Linked DNA regions of Homo sapiens: all the other regions are linked to region 1. The links are contacts of gene promoters, found by promoter capture Hi-C in blood cells and fetal thymus (Javierre and others, 2016). All regions are on one chromosome and are shown on one strand. Each heading gives the region's core, a stretch centred on a gene start or on the middle of the fragment in contact. The rest is flanking DNA. Distances are from core to core; before and after follow the strand shown. Region 1 holds the start of OR1K1 (olfactory receptor family 1 subfamily K member 1). Region 2 holds the start of OR1J4 (olfactory receptor family 1 subfamily J member 4). Region 3 has its middle 53 kb from the start of OR1J1. Region 4 overlaps PTGS1 (prostaglandin-endoperoxide synthase 1).

Region 1 (4,638 bases), core at 965-3,464:
GATTCTATGGGGCCCATTAAAACACACCTGCATGACCCATGTGGCATAAGGGCTTGTTCTGGCTCTGACACTGACTAGGTTACCAGCTTTGAGCCTCAGTTTCCTCATTCATAAAGTGGCAATAAGAGTACCCATACTTTTTGTGGGTAAAAATAAGTGAAGTGCTGGCATACGATAAAGACTTATCCAATGCTTGCTCCATCTGCCCCTAACACCTATGCCTCCTCCTTCTCAGCTTTGCTTTGTTTATTCATGACTGTGCGTGTCCACAACGTGCTCCTTCTACAGAATGCCAGGTGGGGCAGAACAGGTGCCATGATAGCAAACAAGGGAAAGAACAAAGAATTAGAAGAACGGACTTCTTCTAAATGCATGTTAGTATGAACACAGAGTCATTTATTCATATTAGATGTGCAGAGGGCCTCCTGTGTGCCACACTGAGCTCATTAGGAGGGGCTGGCCCTTCACACATGAGTGTGTGAATTTCTCTATTCCAGTCCCAGTTGAGAAGTCAATTTATTTGAGAACACATGGCCATATGACTGAAGAGAAAGTGCTCATCCACACAAGGCATGTTCTGCGGATGTCACACCCTCCTGGATTGCCCTCGGTCTGTAGGAAATGGTGGAATGCATTCTAAATGCCTAAGAGTGATCATCAGAAGAGCATGATGTGGCAGAAGGGGTGCAGGTTTTGCTTTCTAAGAACTGTGTGAATTTGAGAAAGTCACTTCTTTTTTTTTTGAGATGGAGTCTTGCTCTGTTGCCCAGGCTGGAGCTCAGTGGCACAATCTTAGCTCACTTCAATCTTCATCTTTTGGGTTCAAGTGATTCTCTTGCCTCAGTCTCCCGAGTAGATGGGATTACAGTTGTGCGCCGCCATGCTTGGCTAATTTTGGTATTTGTAATAGAGACAGGGTTTCGCCATGTTGGCCAGGCTGATCTTGAACTCTCGACCTCAGGTGATCCACCACCTCGGCTTCTCAAAGTGCTGGGATTACAGGCGTGAGCCGCTGTGCCTGGCTGGAAAGTCACTTCTTATCTTTGAGCCTAAAGACAAATTTTCTTGTGTGTAAAACCGGATCATAATATCTGCATCCTGGGTGGCTGTGGGAATAAAATGAGATCAGGCAAGGATCTGCTTCCGGGCAGGTGCTCAGGAAATGACAGCTGTTATGATTTTTGAGCATAGCAGAGGACAGAGGGTCACGTTCAACAGTTGCCAGTGTGGGTGATGCAGTCTGTCCTCAGTGGGGTCCTGCCCTCAGGAGTCACTAGCTGAGATCCTTCGCCCAATGAGAAGGGCTCGGAGTGCCCCCTGTACATCGCGATTCCAGAGGCTGTAGATGATGGGGTTCAGCATGGGGGTGACTACAGTGTACATGACAGTGGCCACACGGCCCCACTCTGCCTCGCGTCGGGATGTGGCCTGGAAGTAGACTGCAATGACTGTCCCATAGAAGAGGCTCACCACAGCCAGGTGGGAGCCACAGGTGGACACAGCCCGGAGCCTCCCAGAGGCTGAGGGCAGCTGGAGCACGGCAGCTGCGATGGCCCCATAGGAGGCGAGGATGAGCAGGAAGGGAGTGACCACCACTGCGGCGCCCTCGGTGAAGATGAGCAGCTGGATGTGGTGGGTGTCAGAGCACGAGAGCCTTAAGAGAGGCTGGTGGTCACAGAAGAAGTGGGGCACTTGGTGGGAAGCACAGAAGGACAAGCGAGCCATGAGCAGGATATACAGGAGGGAGTGGACGTGGGACACCAGCCATGCCATTCCCACCAGGGCTGCGCACATGGCCCGGGACATCCTCGTGGCATAGGGGAGGGGGTGCCGGATGGCCACGTAGCAGTCATAGGCCATGGCCGCCAGAAGACAGCTATCAGTTACCCCCAGGGCAAAGAAGAAGTACATTTGGGTCAGGCAGCCAGCCAGCGAGATGGAGTGGTCATGGGCCAACAAGTTGGCCAACATCTTGGGCACAGTGACGGAGGCGAAGCAGAGGTCAGCAAAGGACAGGTGGGCCAGCAGGAAGTACATGGGTGCATGAAGGGCTGGACTGGCCTGGATGGCAGCCACAATGAGTCCATTACCCAGGAGGCTGGCCACATACAAGAGCAAGAACAGCACAAAGAGAGGCCGCTGCTGTCCAGGACTTGTTGTCAGTCCCAATAAAACGAATGAGATTCCCTCTGAAGACTCATTGGCAGCCTCCATGGCAGGCTGGTTATTCGCCTGGAACCTGAAGGGCTCCTTTCTATTGATGGGTCACCTCCCCGATGTCTAACGGAAAAGGTGAGGGGATAAATTGTTCAAGGCTTCCTGGCCATGGGAAAATATCAAGAGTTTAGAGTCAGGTAGCCCTGGCCCTAGGCACAGGTATGACTATGGGCAAGTCATTTCACCTCCCTGAACCTTCTTCCTTTCTGGGCCTTAGATTTTCTTTTCTTTTTTTTTTTTTTTTTTTGAGATGGAGTCTTGCTCTGTCGCCCAGGCTGGAGTGCAGTGGCACGATCTCAGCTCACTGCAAGCTCCACCTCCTGGGTTCACGCCATTCTCCTGCCTCAGCCTCCCGAGTAGCTGGGACTACAGGCGCCCGCCATCACGCCCGGCTAATTTTTTTTGTATTTTTTAGTAGAGACGGGGTTTCACCGTGTTAGCCAGGATGTTCTCGATCTCCTGACCTTGTGGGGCCTTAGACTTTCAACCTGCGAAATAAGAGAATTGAAGTAACTCATCTGCAAGGTCACGTCCAACTTTGATAGTTTGTGATTTAAGCAAAAATAGAACAAAAGATATTGCACAAGATGTAGATCAGGGAAGGAGGAAAATATGAAAGAAAAGATGAAACAGAGTGAGGTTCGACACAGAAAGATCTGGCCAATGGACATTTATTTTGGAAAAGAAAAAATGAAACCAAACCAAGATGGAGGAGAGAAACATAAGAAAGAAACTCTAGAAAAAAAATCTGAAGAGCACATATGTTTACATTGAAATGAATATGAACTCACAACACCTAGACACAAATAGTGGAATTTTAGAACACTGGAAATGAAGAGGAGACTCCAGTACTTCCTAAGGGCATGGGGTGCAATGAACTGATGATATCCATGTAATTAGATTGCCATCAAATGTTTCAATTCAACAGTAGATTATAGAACAGTTTAACAATATTCAAATTCTGAAAAAAAGCATTTCGAACTTGGAATTCTTCACTCAGCAAAAATACTACTCAAGTGTGAGTAAAGAATACAGATATTTTCAGACTTAAAACACAAAACAAGGCCGGGTGCAGTGGCTCGTGCCTGTAATCCCAGCACTTTGGGAGGCCAAGGTAGGAGGATCACCTGAGGTCAGGAGTTTGAGACCAGCCTGGCCAATGTGGTGAAACCCCATCTCTACTAAAAAAAAAAATACAAAAATTAGCCAGGTGTGGTGTCACGTGCCTGTAATCCCAGCTACTTGGGAGGCTGGGGCAGGAGAATATCTTGAACCCAGGAGGCAGAGGTTGCAGTGAGCCAAGATCGTGCCACTGCACTCCAGCCTGGGTGGCACAGTGAGACTCCATCTCACACACACACAAAAAAAGAACAAGAGAATCTGAATGACTCCTCATATCCCTGAAAACTTTCCCCATGAAATCAAACACTTACTGAGCACCAAGCAGATGCACATCACAGGGTGAGAAACTCCTGTGGACAGATGGACACATCTGCCCAGGCATAGCGACTTGACTCTTAAGGAGAGAGGCAACTTGTTTTCAATGTCTCAGTTTTTTTCCTGTCTGAATTTCATTGCAGAAATCTTGGGCAATTCTGTAAGAAGAGAATTGAAGTAACTGAGAGGAATTTTAGGGCACAGGTTTGCTGAAGACTGTGCTGAAACCACCTTTACAGGGAAATGATCTTTTAATTTATTTCCACATCTTTCTCTATTAAAAAAAAATCAATGAAGGACCTCCCTACCCTATCGTATTCCTTTTTTCCTCCATTGGTTAAGAAGAATCTCTGGCGTTAGCTTCCTCTAAAGCATCTTTTCTTAAGCCCCTAATTCTTTCTCACTTTCCTGGAGGGGAAGAGGATCAGGATGATTGGGTAGGATGGAAGGGGAAACCTGTTTATAGAATTGCTTTTGGAAAATGGACCTGCTCTGACCTGTGTCTAAATTGGTCCCAAGAAGCGTTCAAATATACAAAGATGTTTGTAGAAACATTCAAATGTAGTTGGAAACGCACATGCAGGCACGCAGACATGTGCATCCTCAAGCTGGTCTCTGCAAATACATAGGCACAATCAGTCATATACAGAAATGTGGAGCCAGCACATGCATTCACAGCAAAGTAGGCAGACAACCATTACCTCAGGATTCAGAAGCCAAGATCGTCATACACATACACACATGGCCAAATGCAATCACAAAATGGCACTAAGGCCAGAGGGTGACAATCATTCACATACTCCTCTTGATGGAGACATAGCGCCATGCACAGCTGCTGTGACCCATCATGCACATTCATGTTCTCATTGACTGCTTACTGTGTGTGAGCACTCTGCCCAGTGCCCATCCATGCATGCCCAGCCACACCCAATCCCCTCAGTGATCATACAATCACATCTTTGCACACAGCCTCACACCTTCACA
Region 2 (4,826 bases), core at 1,425-3,924, 280 kb after region 1:
TCAGGGATCTGAACAACAGAACTGGGGTGCCGGCAGGGAAACTGAGTCAGGCACTTAGTTCTACAGATCACATCACTATAGCAGAGATGAGAGTGTACAGCAGGTCATGATTGTGCTGAGGCTATCAAGGCATGCTTTACCTAGACCAACAATAAACCAACAATAAAGATTCTATCCCTGTTCAGGTTTTGGCTCTGGAAAAGGTCGGGGCTAAGCCTGTAAACAAAGTGACCCTGTGCTTGCAGCAAGGAGTGGGGGTGGCACTCTTTCTTGTTCTACAAAGGACTGGATGCCAAAAGGCAGCTACATGAGCCCCCGATGAAGGATCACTCTTTGAGTCAATATCAAACAAGTGAAGAGTAAGGTCTTTTTCTGATCTGTCTTTCCTTACCTACCCACACATGAACTCACTTGTTCATTGCCCTTTAGTTATTTGGTTCTAGCTCAAGCCAGAACAGATATGTTGCTGTGTCCTAGGGCAGGTTATTGCTTTTGAATTGGGAATATAACCAACATGACAAGCTGCCCATGGTCACCATAATTCAGGAGTGTCTGCACAAGTTCTGCTTCAAAACTCATCTCTGATGGAGAAGGTAGAGAAAATTCACATTCATTATTCTTGGTCAGCTGTAGTGTTAAGCCCAATTTATTACTGCATTTACTTCAAATAAAATATGTTAGGTGTTGCAGAACTTTTTTCACCTATACAGAAGAAGAAATTGAGGTTCAAAGGAATTGGGTGAATTGTCTGAGGCCACGCAGCCACCACCCTGGTATATAGAGATTACAAATGAGATCTAGCTTTCCAAATATTCTTCTCTTGCAGCTACACATTGCTGCTTCTCAGAAGCATTTGTAGTTCTGTTTATCTTTAAGTAGAGGAATGAAAAAAGAGACCTATATGCCCTTCACTGGATGGCGGAGACCATAGAAGATAGAAGAAAAAGATAAAAGATGACTTGGGCATATAATACAAACTAGGGGCCATTAAGCTGAGTAGAAATGCTTTTCAATAAGAAAGACAACGAAGACACTGAATGGGAAAAGGATCAAATTTAGTGACGGCAACAGAAGGCTCCTGACTGTGAAGACTTTTTTGTTCTTCTCATTCATTACCTGGAGTAAGTCTGCGGCGTGATTGAAGCTCACATGTGTAGTCAGAAAGCTTCATAAACATTGGTCTGAAAGTGAACTGTTGAATGAAAGTTATTGTAGTCTAGAAGAGGAACCTCAAGTTCTGAAGTGGAACAGCTGAACTTATGACAGTGAATAGCTTTTTGGATCTGTAAAGGGTACTATATAGTTTCTTCTCCTTACCCACCACCATCAGCAACAACAATAAAAAATGTGAGAAGAGAACTGAATGGGAAGAAAGAAAGGGAAATGCCTTTACAAGTACCCAATCCTTCAACTTTTCTATGGCAAGGGAATCCTGTTAGTCAACATATTTAAACAATTCCTAAGAACAAATAAATTTCCAGGAAATAAAATGAAGGATTTAAGTTCTGTTAACTATGTAATTTCTGAATCTAATAGGCAAGATAAATAAACAATTATGTAAACTCAGAATTCACAATTTGCACTAAAGAGGAAAAGGGAGAATAACTGTAACAGGATGCAATTCAAGTCATCAGAGAGTTACTGAGCACTTATCCCTTGCTGGGATCAGAAGTAAGGATCTATGATCTGGAAATAGGTCAGTACATATGTCTGTTATAAAGAAGAGTAAATGTCATTGAGATAAGACTGTTGCCCTGTTGAAGAGTCTCTCCAGGGCTCCCTTTATGTCCCTGTTCCTTAGGCTATAAATGAAGGGATTCAGCAATGGGGTGATCACCGTGTACATCACAGAGGCAATTACGTCCTTGTCACTGGAGGCACTGGATGAGGGGAGAAAATACAGTCCAATAATTGTGCCATAATACAGAGACACCACAGAGAGGTGAGAGCCACAGGTGGACAAAGCTTTGAAGATGCCCTTAGTAGATGGAGCCTTGAGGATGGTGACCCCAATGTGGCCATAAGAGATCAAGATGCATATTAGTGGTAGAGTAATGACTGCCTGTCCCACTGTGAAAATGACCAGCTCATTGAGGGAGATGTCTGAGCATGAGAGCTTGAGTAGGGCAACAAGATCACAGAAGAAATGGGGGATGGTGTTGTCAGCACAAAAGGACAGCTGGGCCAGGAGGAGAGTGTGAGACAGGGCATTGGTACAGGAGAGGATCCAGGACACAGTGACTAGTAAGTTACACAGTCCCTCTTTCATGATAGTGGTGTAGCGGAGGGGGTGACAGATGGCCACATACCGATCGTATGCCATTGAAGTGAGAAGGAAATTGTCTAGATCAGTGAAAAATATGAAAAAATACATCTGAGTTACACACCCTGCATAAAGAATGGATTGATCCTGAGTTTGCATGCTTAATAACATCTTTGGGACAGTGACAGATGAAAGGGAGATGTCAGTGAGAGCCAAGTGGCTGAGGAAGAAGAACATGGGGGTGTGAAGGTGAGAGTCCAGCCGGATGAGCAGGATGATGAGCAGGTTCCCCAGCACCGTGATCAGGTACATGCCCAAGAACAGGGTGAAGAACACAGCCTGCTGCTCTGGCCAGATGGGGAGGTCCAGGAGGAGGAACTCAGACACACTGCTCTGATTCTCCCTCTTCATGCTGACAGTCTTCTCTCTGCTGGAAATAGAGGGACATTGAAAAAGGCAGAAACAAACAAATGTTGATTTACAGCAGCAGATAAGAATAAGATCCTTGCTACTGATGAATATGCCAATGTCTGTCTACATTGCTATGTCCCTACAAAAAATCATTTCAAGTAGATGGTTTTATCACTCAAAATGGGATAATTCGCCAAGAGAGTAGAGGGTTTGAAATAGAAGAGAAGACCAGCCATGTCTAGTCAGTAAAGAGAAAGCTTCACACCGTATTAGCAGATGGATCGTAAGATAACGTCTTTCCAATTTCCATTGTTTATGTACTTTTAAAAACAATCATCAGGCTAGTCATGAGCCTTCATGTTGTAACATATTGAACTTTTTAAAATTTGACTTCAAAATCTATTAGTAAGCAACATATAGGGATGAAGTTTCCATAACACATATCCAAAAGAAATTGGATCAAAGATAAACAGCCAAAGTTTTCATTATGTATAAAGTTGATGAGAAAAAAAACTTGTCTATTGATTACAATATCACTGCCATAAAAAAAGTAAATCTTACACAAAATATTTAAAGGTGAGAGCTTCAGGAGGTAATTAGGTCATGAGGGTAGAACCCCATGAATGGGATTATTGCCCTTATAAGAAGAAACACAAGAGTGTCTCTGGCATTGCCATGTGAGGACTCAGCAGGAAGGCAGCCATCTGCTAACCAGAAAGTGGACCCGCACCAGAAACCAAATCTGCTGGTACCTTGATCTGGGGCTTCCCAGGCTCCAGAACTGTAACAAATAAATGTCTGCTGTTTAAAGTCACCCAGCTATAGCAGCCCAACCGACTAAGACACTCAGTAAACTAAATAATACAGTAAACACCATACCTAGTGGAGACATTTTAAAGCATTTCCATTAAAATCAGGAATGAGAAAAATATGCCAGCTTCCTCCACAGCCACTATCTACCCATTAAAATATTCTAAAGCCATGGCATATATGTGCCACATTTTCTTTATCCAGTCTATCATTGATGGACATTTGAGTTGATTCCATGTCTTTGCTATTGGGAATAGTGCTGCAATGAACATACATAAAAAGGAATGAGACCATGTCCTATGCAGGGACATGGATGGAGCTGGAAGCCATTATCCTCAGCAAACTAATGCAGGAACAGAAAACCAAACAACACATGTTCTCACTTATAAGTGAGAGCTGAACAATGAGAACACAGGGAGGAGAACAATACACACTGGGACCTGTCTAGGGAGCTTGAGGGGGTGAGAGCATCAGGAAAAAGAGCTAACGAATGCCAGGCTTAATACCTAGGTGATGGGGTTGATAGGTGCAGCAAACCACCATGGCACACGTTTACCTGTGTAACGAACCTGCACATCCTGCACATGTACCCTGGAACATAAGAAAAAAAAAACACCTCAAAAAGATATTCTAAACCTAAGTTACCAAATCCTGCAAGGCCAGTAGGAATGAGTTTATAGTGCCACTGTGTCTTAATTGAAAAGTTCCCTTTAAGTCAAAAAGCAATGCCAAATGCCTAATATATATACCAACGTATACTAAGTAAATAGAAAATGTGAGGATTTCATTATAACAGTTCTTAATTGGGAGAAAAATTCAGAAGAGCTTTGTACAGGTTAAGGATAGGCTTAAAATTCTTTGCTTCTTTAAGCTGGTGAGTTGAGCATACTCCTATTTCATATGAGAATACCATCCTTCCTTTGAAACTTACCAAAAGGCAGCCAACATAACAGAGTTCCGAATGGACCCATAGAGAAAAGGGGCAAGAATGCCTGGCCCAGGTTCCCCGGCTGCACCTGCTCACTCCAGCATTTTAAGGCTCCCTGGGGCTGTGACCTTAAGGATAGAGCCTAGTGTCTGAGGGTAGTATGTTGTACTGACAAAAGCATTGCAATTAGCCCTAGATTCAAGTCCTGGCAACATCACTTCATATCTTCATATTTGTGAGTTCTGGAGAAGTGATCCAGTTGGCCTGAGCTTCAGTTTTCTCATCTCTAATCTGGAGATGAGACTATGAGCCTAAGTCATGAGAATATTGTGAATATTAATAAGAAAACATTTGTGAAGAATGACTGCATACAATCTGAACCAATTTATATCAGTTTCTCACCTGCCATTTCCT
Region 3 (5,323 bases), core at 246-2,745, 370 kb after region 1:
GACTAACACTTGAGATGCCTTGGTGTAGAATACACTGGAATCTGGGAGTTCATTCAAAAGTTACGTAGTTTAAGGTTAAGATTTTATTTGGGTCCTGGAACACGTTCGGTGGGTGCTGTCTCAGCTCACCTGGAAGCAGATGTCTGATGGCCTTATTTCTAGGCACAAGTCCTCATTAGTCTCCTCAGCTTTATAAAGATAATAATAATATCATTTATTGAACACTTACTATACTCTTGTTATTGTGTTACATACTTTACTTGTGTAAACATATTTAATCCCAACGACAACCCTACAAGACAGATACTGATGTTATTCACATTTTATAGATGAGAACCTGGAGACTTGGTGAAATTTTTAACTTGTTTATTACTGCACAGTTAGTTGAGTTATGGAGTTAGAATCTGAAACATCTGTCTGACTGAAAGCCCTGCACTAAATACTAGTGTGTTGTTTGATTGCCAACTCTAAATAGGATTCACCTCTACTTGATTGATAATAGACACCAGCCGCAGCTTAGGTATCAACGAGGGACTATTAGTTGGTGGTCACTGATACTCAGTGTTTACCAAAAGTTTAACTAAAAGAAAATATATTTAGGGAAGCTTGCTCAAAGGACATGCAGGTCATCCATACCTACCTGCAAGACTAAAATCCAATATGTTGTCCACCCAAACCACTGGAAATCTGAGCACCTAGACAGCATTCTTTTTGCCTCTGAGCTATTGTTTACTGTGAATTTTTACACCCCAATTTGATTGCCAAAGCCTACATTAAGACGGATTAAAAGAAACCCCATGCAATGTGTCTGTTCTTAGAACCGCAGATGATATAATTTCACCTAATCAAGTGGTTTATTTTTACTTTTGGTCCCAGTGAACTGTGTGACTGACCAGAAAGCCTGAGCCAAATCTGAGGCCCACCCATAACAACAGTCATCATAATCTGCATTTTCAGAGTCATTCCTGGCTCAATTTTATGTCTCCACCCTTGTTTATCCCCCCTTTTGTTCTTTTTCTAACCTCATTTTCCATTTATCTTATCTTGTATTTTATACGTATTTCCAAGCTTCCTTAAATTCTTCAGGAATAAGACTTGGCATAAATATAAATAAATTTGAGGAAATCTACCAAAATGTAGAAACAGTGGTTACCTCTGGATAGCAAAAGTATAGATTTTTTTAAATCTGCATCTTCATAAAGGATCTCATGCCCTGACCATAAACATTCTTTCTTTTATAAGTATGAAGACATATTTCTAATTACAGATAAACTGTAAAATTCTAATTTTTTGTTATGAATATTGGTAAAAATGTAGTCCATTAATAGAGACTGAAGGTAAAGACGGTGATATTCATCAGGAGAGAGACTATATAGTTGATTTGATGTATCAAATTGGCTGAGCCATGGTAACAAGGTGTTTGGTCAAACATTATTCTATGTGTTTCTGTGAAAGTGTTTTTTTGGCAATTCCTGACCTACTGGTTCAATGAAATCTCAATCAAAATTCTATTGGGCTCTTTTGTAAGTTGAAAATTTTAAAATAAAATTTATATGGAAATGGCAAAAAACCTAGAAGAACCTAAATAACTTTGGGGGAGGAAAGAAGACCCACACCATGCAATTCAAGACTTACTAAGCTATAATAATCAAGACAGTGTACTTTTGGTTTTAAAGCTCAATCAAACAAGAGTTCAGAAATAGATCTACAGTTATATGGTCAATTGATTTTTGACAAAAATTCCAATGCAATAGAGAAAGGACAGTTTTTCAACAACTGATGCTGGAACAATTGGATATCCATATAAAAAAATCAATCCTTAACTCACACCATATATATAAATTAATTCAAAATGGATCATGGACTTAAATGTAAGAGCTAAAACTGTAAAACTTATAGAAGAAAACAAAAGAAAAGCTTTGTAACCTTGGATTAGGCAAATAATTTTCACATAAGAAACAAAAAGCAAAAACCATAATAGAAAAAAACTGCTAAATTCAGCATCATCAAAATTTTAAACTTCTGCTGTTTGAAAGATACTGTTAAGAGAATGTAAAGACAAGCCACAGGCTGGGAGAAAATGTTTGCAAAACACATACCTAATAAAGACTTTATCTAGAAAAAAGAACTCTCACAATCAATTATAAGACAAATAGCTCAAATAGTGGGCAAAGGATCTGAACAGACACTTAATCAAAGAAGATATACAGATGGCAAATAAGCACATGAAAAGATGCTTGACACCACTGGTCATTAGGGAAATGCAAATCAAAACCACAATGAAATACCACTACACATCACTAAAATGGCTAATACCAAGCTCTGGTGAGAGAAGCACCTGGAAATTGTATCCATTGCAAAATGGAGCAGCCCTTTTTGAAAACAGTTTAGCAGTTTCTTTAAAAGTTTAACACATACCTACCATACAACCCAGCAATCCTATCCCTAGGTATTTACCCAAAAGACAAGGAACCATATGTTCACACAAAGAACTGTATGCCAATGTTTAGAGCAGCTTTATTCACAGTAGCCAAACAGTGGAGACAGTCCACCAATGATGAATGGATAACCAAATTGTGGTACATCCATATGCAGCAATAAAAATGAACGAATTACTTATATGTGCAACAACTTGGAAGAATCTCAAAAAAAGTATGCAAAATCAAAGAAGCTGGACCAAAAAAAGGCTACATCTTATATCATTCTAATTGTATGACATTCAGGAAAAGGAAGCAGGAAATCAGATCACCGTTTGCCTGGGGCTAGGAGTGGCAGAAGGATAGTGACTACCAATGGGTAGGAGAGAACTTTTGTGGCAATAAGAATATTGTGTATCTTCATTGTAGTTGTTACATAACGGCATACTGTTGTCAAAACTCATCAAATGGAATACTTCCTATGAATAAATGCTATTGTTCATAAATTATGCTTTAGAAAACTTAATTTTAGAAAAAACACTTTGTAGAAAATAAAAGTTATATTTTAGAACTTAGGCTATGGAAAGATTTTCTAAATAAGATCAAAATGTAGCAAAAACAAAATATTGATAAAGTTGGCTCACATTAAAGCCAAAATCTTTGCAATAATCTGACTACAAGACTATGTGAACTGGTCCTGTGGCCATTCTGACCTCAGCTCCTGCCCCTCTTTATTCATTCAGCCCAGTCCAGCCATACTGGTCTGTTATTCCTTAAATACATCAGGTGCACTACTACCTCAGTGCTCTCACCAATCTCATTCTATAATGTTATGCCTCCTTCAACACAGAGGATATCACTGAGGTTGACTATGGCCATGCAAGACCCATCTCCCCCAACTTGGTCCCTCAATTCTAGGTGTCATTCCCAATCAGACCCAGGTAGGTCCTACTTTTTGGACTTGGAAGGGGGGCAGACGAGCCTGAGAGAGAAGTGCCTGTTTCTCCAGTATTCTGAATTGGTGACAGCCAAAGGCCGTGTTTCCAATGAAGATACTGATCCATGGAGAGACTACGCTTAATTTTTAATTACTGCTCCCTTAGAAGAAGACAAACTTTTAACCACATATGCCACTTAATTAAACCACAGAGATCTTCTCTGCATGGCTAATTACTATTGAAGCAGATGAGCCAGGAGATTCTCAAATGAAGTTTCTCTGGGGCCTCGTTAACAAGAATGGAGCACACCCCACAGAGGCAGCTACATGCGCACTGAAACTTTTCTGATATTTTACACTCAAAGCCTCCTAGCTTCCTCAAGAGGTTCTGATCACCAACCAATACCATTATCAAAAGCATCTTCCCAGCTGGACCCTGCCTAACTCCCTAGCCTCATTTCTCTTCATGATCTATCATTCTCTCTATTCCCAGAAATAACAAATAGGTTTCATCTCTTACCCTGCCACTATTTAACTAAGAGTAGCTGCCTGGAGTGCTAAGTTGAGAATGATTCAAAGGTTCAAATCAATCCCCATGAGAAATAATGCTCTGTGATAGATTAACAATGTCTGCCATGAATGTGGAATGGGGAGATTGTAGTGTGAAAGCTATATATTCTCCATCTCTGCCCTATACCAAATCCTGAACCATGCTGCATTCCCAGACCACTTAACACTTCTTCACACCTCTATGTTTTTGTAGGTTATTGCAATATCATTCCTTCTCTTCACTCAGTCAATGCCTAGTTGGCTATCCTTCAAGGCCTAACTTCCCTATAGCTTTCTCTGAGCATCCTTCCTTATCCTTGGGTTCAAGTGGGATTAATAATTTTCTCCATTGTACTTTTAACATCAGATTATTGTTGCAATTATTGCACTTATCTAAGTTATTGGGGTGCTGTGCAAGAATAACTTCTAGAGAGAAGTTCTTGGTGAATGCTATGAGAAGACACAAGAGACTGGTAACGACTCTCTGGTGGGAAAAGGAAAACAAAAAGAATAGAGGTATTTATAGCAAGAAATAGACAAAAGATAGAACCTCTAAGGATAGAGAATGAGAGGCCCTCCTCCTTAAAGTTACTGTGACGGTTAGCTACATAATAGTCCACGATATTGAAAGCAGAGTGGGGAATTGATGAAGAAAGCATAACCTGGGTGAATCATATATCATCAGAAGTCCTATACTAAAAAAAACTACTAAAGAAAGAAAGAAAATGATCACAGGTGAAAGTACAAAATGCAAGCAGTGCAGTGCAATGGAAAGAAAAATAATGTGAATAATCTAAAAGAATATTGCTTACTAAAAGCAATAGTAAGGATGTCTTGTGAGGTTTAAAATGTGTGTTGTATTAAAATGCATCAAAACTCTAACTCAAAAGGCAGGAGTGGAGCAAATGGAGTTAAAGTGTTCTACACGTCTTGCATTTACTATGAAATGGTAAAAATATAAAAATATATTGGGCTTTAATAAGTAAAGGATATACATTATAATGTCTAAAGTAAGAACTAAGAGAATAAAATGTATAACTAACAAGCCAATAGAAGTGCAAAATTTGAACAATAATTTAAAAGAAGACAAGAAAACAGAGAAAAAGGAACAAAAAACAGGCAGGATAAACAGAAAATATACAGCAAGGTAATAGAATTTCTATTGCAGTAATGGCAAAGCATCTTGTCTCAGTCTGAGCCTCCCATTTTAATAATTTTAAATTATTGGGAGGGAAACTCTGGGGAAAAATTTTTGTTTGAAGGCTTTGGAGCATAACCAAAAGCAGGTACAAAACGGAAGGAATTAACCTTGCAAGAAGGAAATCACCAGGTTAGATTCACATTTAATTGGCTTTTCTTCTGAGGGCATTCTCCAGATTATATAATGCAGGGTGGCTAACACTCAAGCAAAAAGCCAATA
Region 4 (4,977 bases), core at 2,478-4,977, 400 kb after region 1:
ATAAGGATTGTATTGAATCTATAGACTGCTTTGGGTTGTATGGACATTTTAACAATGTTGATTCTTCCAATCTATGAATATGGAATATTTTTCTGTTTTTCGTGTGTCCTCTCCAATTTCTTTCATAGTGTTTTATTTTCCATTGTCAAGATCTTTCACTTCTTTGATTAATTTCCAGGTACTTAATTTTATTTGTAGCTATCGTAAATGGGATTACTATTTTCAGAATTTTCACTGTTTTCACATAGAAATGTTACTAATTCTTTCTTCTCTTTGATCAATTCTGCTATTAAGAGACTCTGATGCATTCTTTAGTAGTCAGTTGCATTTTTCAGCTTCAGAATTTCGGCTTGATTCTTTTTAATTATTTCAATATCTTGGTTAAATTGATCTGATAGGATTCTGAATTCCTTCTCTGTATTATCTTGTATTTCACTGAGTTTCCTCAAAATAGCTATTTCAAATTCTCTGTCTGAAAAGCCTAGAGGTGTAGATATATGACCTCTCTCTGAGAGATAGAGAAAGATCACATATTTCTATCTCTCTAGGATAAATCCCTGATGACTTATTTAGTTTGTTTAGTAAGGTCATGTTTTCTTGAGTGGTATTGATGCTTGTGGATGTTCACTGGTGTCTGGACATTGAAAAGTTAGATATTTGTGGTAGTCTTTGCAGTCTGGGCTTCTTGGGAAAGCCTTCTTGGGAAGGCTTTCCAGGTATTCGAAGGGACTTGGGTGTTGTCATCTAAGTTTTTGGTCACCATAGTCATATCAGCATTAGGAGGCACCCCAAGCCCAGTAATGCTGTGGCTCTTGCAGACTTGTAGAGGTACCACTTGATGGTCTTGGATAAGATCTGGAAGAATTGTCTGGATTACCAGGCAGATATTCTTGTTCTCTTCCCTTACTTTCTCCCAAACAGACAGAGTCTCTCTGTCTCTGTGCTGAGCTGCCTACAACTGGGGGAGGGGTGGCACAAGCACCCCTGTGGCCACCACCACTGGGACTGCACTAGGTCAGACCTGAAGCCAGCACAGCACTGTTTCTTACCCAAGGCCCATTATAACCACTACCTGGCTACCACCACCTTTGTTTACTCAAGGCTTTAGGGCTTTGCAGTTAGCAGGCAGTAAGTCAGCCAAGCTTGTGTCCTTCCCTTCAGGGCAGCGAGTTCCCCCAAGCAGGTCCGTAGATGCTGTTTGGGGACCAGAGCCTGGAGTTGAAAATCTTAAGAATCTGCCTTGTGTTCTATTCTACTGCAGCTGAGCTGCAGACAAAGCTACAAGTCAAGTCTTTCCCACTCATCCCTCCCCTTCCCACAGGCAGAGGAGTCTCTCCCCATGGCCAGCACCACCACAGGCCCATGGGGAGTACTGCCTGGCTACCACCAATGTTCACACAAGGCCAAGAGCTCTTCAGGAAGCTTGTGGTGAATGCTGCCAGACCTAGGACTCACGTATCAGGGCAGTGGTCTCCCCTCTGGCCCAGGTCAGGTCCAGAAATGCTGTGCGAGAGCCAAGGCCTGGAATCAGGGATACTGAGAGCCCACTTGGTGCTCTGCCCCACTGTGGCCGAGCTAGTACCTAAGCTGCAAGATGAAATCCCCTTTACTTTTCCCCCTGCTTTTCTCAAGTAGAAGGAGTCTCTCCCCATAGCCACCACAGCTGGGAATGTGCTGGGTCACACCTGAAGTCAGCACATCTCAGAATCTCACTCAAGGGCCATAGTGTGTACTACCTGGCTACTGCTGCTGATTATTCAGGGCCCAAGGGCACTTTAGTCAGCAGGTGGTGAATACTATCAGGACTAGATCCTTTCATTCAAGGCAACAGGTTCCCTTCTGCCTTATATGGCCCATATAAGCCCAGGATATGTCTAGAAATGTCATCTGGAAGTTAGGTCCTGGAATGGGTGCCTCAGGACTCTGCCCGGTGCCCTAAACTACTGTGGCTGAGCTGGTATCCAAGTGGCAAGACAAGTCCTCTTTACTCTTCTCTCCTCAAGCTGAAGGAAGGAGTCTCTTTGAGAGCTGTGAGTTGCACTGCCTAGGGTTGGGAGAGGGGTGGCACAAGCACTCCCTTGGCTATCGCAGCAGGTCACATGCCCCTCAAGTCCACTGGCTCCAAGCGCAGATCAGACTTTCCTAGGAGTTGTAATCCTTGTGGCCTATACTGCCTTTCAAGTTTATTTAGAACCCCAGAGCCCTTTAGCCCATTCAGCAACTGGGATGGATGCTTCCCCTCTGGCTAGGGCTGATCTAAATTCTCCCTCATGGGTATTAGCTGAGTTCTGCCTGGTGTTGCTTTCCAGTGTAACAAGGCAACACTGAGTTCTAACACAAAGTCCTACAACCACTACACTCTCCCTACACAGATTCTCTGTGCCATGTGGCTGCTGCCAGGGATCGGGGAGGGATGGCTCTGGCAATTCAAGACCATCCTTCCTACCCTCCTCAGTGCCTCTTTCAGTAATATAAAGTTAAAACCAGGTACTACAATCATTCACTTGAATTTTGGTTCTAATGAAGGTGCATTTTTTGTGTAGACAGTTGTTAAATTTGGTGTTCCTGTGGGGAAGACAATTGGTAGAAGCTTCTATTCTGCCTTCTTGCTCTGCCTCCTGCGTTTCTGACACTTTTTTTAACTCAAAAATTACTAAAAGAGTGGACTGTGTGTACCCAACAGTCTTTGTTTCTCTGTTGTTCTATAATTACATAACTTCACTTCTTAAGCTCTTTGCTTGCAACTATATCGAGCTGCTACCAGGTCAACAGTAAGGCCATTGTGATGGTCTTTGTAACATTCTAGGGATAGGGCCCACAGAGGCAGAACAGAACTAAGAAAATTCAGATTCACTGAAGCAGACTTTCCACGTTTCCCAGCCCCTTTGAACACCTTCCCTATGTATGAGGAATTTTCCTTATCATGGGTTCCTCCTTTTCAAGGCACAAACCAGAAAACTCACTTTCCATTCTTTCTTGTAGCTGCAGTACAGACACATGAGCTGGGCTCCACCAATCCGACACAAAATAAAGATAATTTTAATTCTAAGTAGAGAAAAGAGAGGAAGCAAGTATCACACAGATTCCATTTTCCAGCAAAAGTGGCTGTAGAAGCAGCCTGTTTTGGAAGGCAGCAGTAGTGGGGTTTGGGCAGCAAAGGTGTCATTTGAGATGCTGTGTCCATGGCAGTAGTAGAGGCATCTCCACTGGACAGTGGCCACCATTCCTAGGTGCAAACCCTCCAAGCCTAATTCCCTGGTCCTCCCAGTGGCTCCATGAGCTATGTAATGTCCTATAATAAATTCCTTCCTGCTTATACAGGCTAGAGAATGTTCTGTTGTTTGCATTGAGAGTCCTGAATGAATCACCCATTGTATTAGTCGGGGTTCTCCAGAGAATTAGAACCAACAGAATATATGTATATTATTATTATTATTATTATTATTATTATTATTTGATTTCCAATAATCAAATAATACAGTGGTTTGTGTATTATTTGATTATTGGAACTTGAATAATAATATACATATATTGGTTACACGTGTAGGATGTGCAGGTTTGTTACACAGGTAAACGTGTGCCATGGTAGTTTGCTGCACAGATCATCCCATCAGCTAGGTATTAACATTAGCTATTCTTCCTGATGGCCCACCTCCCACCCTCCGACAGGCCTCAGCATGTGTTGTTCCCCACCATATGTCCACGTATTCTCATCATTCATCTCCCACGCATAAGTGAGAACATGCAGTATTTGGTTTTCTGTTCTTGTATTATTAGAGAGATAGAAATATATATATATATATATATTCAGTCTTGAATATATAGAGAGAGAGTCAGTCTTGAATATATATATATAGTCAGTCTTGAATATATATATAGTCAGTCTTGAATATATATAGTCAGCCTTGAATATATATATAGTCAGTCTTGAATATATATATATAGTCTTGTATATGTATATATATATTCAGTCTTGTATATATATATATATATTCAGTCCTGTGTATATATATATATATATTCAGTCCTGTGTGTATATATATATATATATATATATATATTCAGTCGTGTGTGTGTATATATATATATATATATTCAGTTCTGTGTGTATATATATGTATAATATATATATTCAGTCCTGAATATATGTGCACATATCCTCCATATCCATGGGTTCCATATCTGTGAATTCAACCAAATGCAGATCAAAATATTCAAATACAATAAAAATAATACAAAGAAAAAATACAGTATAACAACTAGCATTTACACTGTATTAGGTATTATAAGTAATCTAGAGATGATTGAAGTTATACAGGAGATTGCACATAGGTTATATGCAAATACTATACCACTTCATATAAAGGACTTGAGGAACCACAGATTTTGGTATCTGTAGAGATCCTGAAACAAATCCCCCACAAATACCAAAGGATGGCTGTATATAGCTTTATTTTTAGAAATTAATTCACACAATTGTTGGGGTTGGCAAACTTCAAATCCATAGGGCAGACTAGCAGGCTGGAAACTCAGGCAGGAGTCGATGGCTATAGTCTTGAGGCAAAGTTTCTTCTTTTCCAGGAAACTGCAGTGTTTGTTCTTGAGGCCTTTCAACTAATCAGGTGCAGCTCACCCAAATTATTTAAGTAATCTCTTTCACTTAAAGTCAACTGATTGTAGATGTTAATCACATCTACAAAATACCTTCACAGCCACACCTAGATTACTGTTTGATTAAATAACTGTGTGCTATAGCCCAACCAAACTGACAAATAAAACCAACCATCACATCCACCAAATCAAAACTCCAGGAACAAATGTTTAAATTACAAGCATTAAGATTCTTCACTCTGAAGAAGCTTTCTTGGTGCATTTAGCCTGTTTCCCTTTGCAAAACTTTCATGTGCAGTTGTCAATACTAAGCAAAGTCTACCTAATCTAGGCACTTGCATTTAAGAGAGGAATACCTCTGGAACC

Evidence for each region. Contacts are between HindIII fragments. The CHiCAGO score rates a contact against its expected background, and 5 or more counts as called.
Region 2: a contact is called between the fragment with the promoter of OR1J4 here and the fragment with the promoter of OR1K1 in region 1, in 5 of 17 cell types (M1 macrophages, M0 macrophages, endothelial precursors and 2 more). The highest score is 8.8, in M1 macrophages.
Region 3: a fragment that was not itself captured here is called in contact with the fragment with the promoter of OR1K1 in region 1 in 11 of 17 cell types (total CD8 T cells, M2 macrophages, naive B cells and 8 more); the score reaches 8.0 in total CD8 T cells.
Region 4: a fragment that was not itself captured here is called in contact with the fragment with the promoter of OR1K1 in region 1 in 2 of 17 cell types (naive CD8 T cells and naive CD4 T cells); the score reaches 5.4 in naive CD8 T cells.

What each region holds. Positions count from the first base shown.
Region 1 is chr9:122,797,699-122,802,336 of GRCh38, reverse strand. OR1K1 (olfactory receptor family 1 subfamily K member 1) reads right to left here and starts at 2,214. Exons shown (of 1, transcript NM_080859.1): 1 at 1,264-2,214. The coding sequence starts at 2,214. The coding sequence ends at 1,264. The HindIII fragment of the contact is 11,918 bases long and covers 1-4,638 here.
Region 2 is chr9:122,516,989-122,521,814 of GRCh38, reverse strand. It overlaps OR1J4 (olfactory receptor family 1 subfamily J member 4), which reads right to left and starts at 2,674. Exons shown (of 1, transcript NM_001004452.1): 1 at 1,733-2,674. The coding sequence starts at 2,674. The coding sequence ends at 1,733. It also overlaps a transcript of OR1J2 not described here. The HindIII fragment of the contact is 966 bases long and covers 1,968-2,933 here.
Region 3 is chr9:122,422,516-122,427,838 of GRCh38, reverse strand. No RefSeq gene overlaps it. Among named protein-coding and RNA genes, the nearest start is that of OR1J1, 53 kb to the left of the region's middle. The HindIII fragment of the contact is 849 bases long and covers 1,071-1,919 here.
Region 4 is chr9:122,395,162-122,400,138 of GRCh38, reverse strand. PTGS1 (prostaglandin-endoperoxide synthase 1) reads right to left here. Exons shown (of 11, transcript NM_000962.4): 11 at 4,436-4,977. Among named protein-coding and RNA genes, the nearest start is that of PTGS1, 27 kb to the right of the region's middle. The HindIII fragment of the contact is 2,269 bases long and covers 2,593-4,861 here.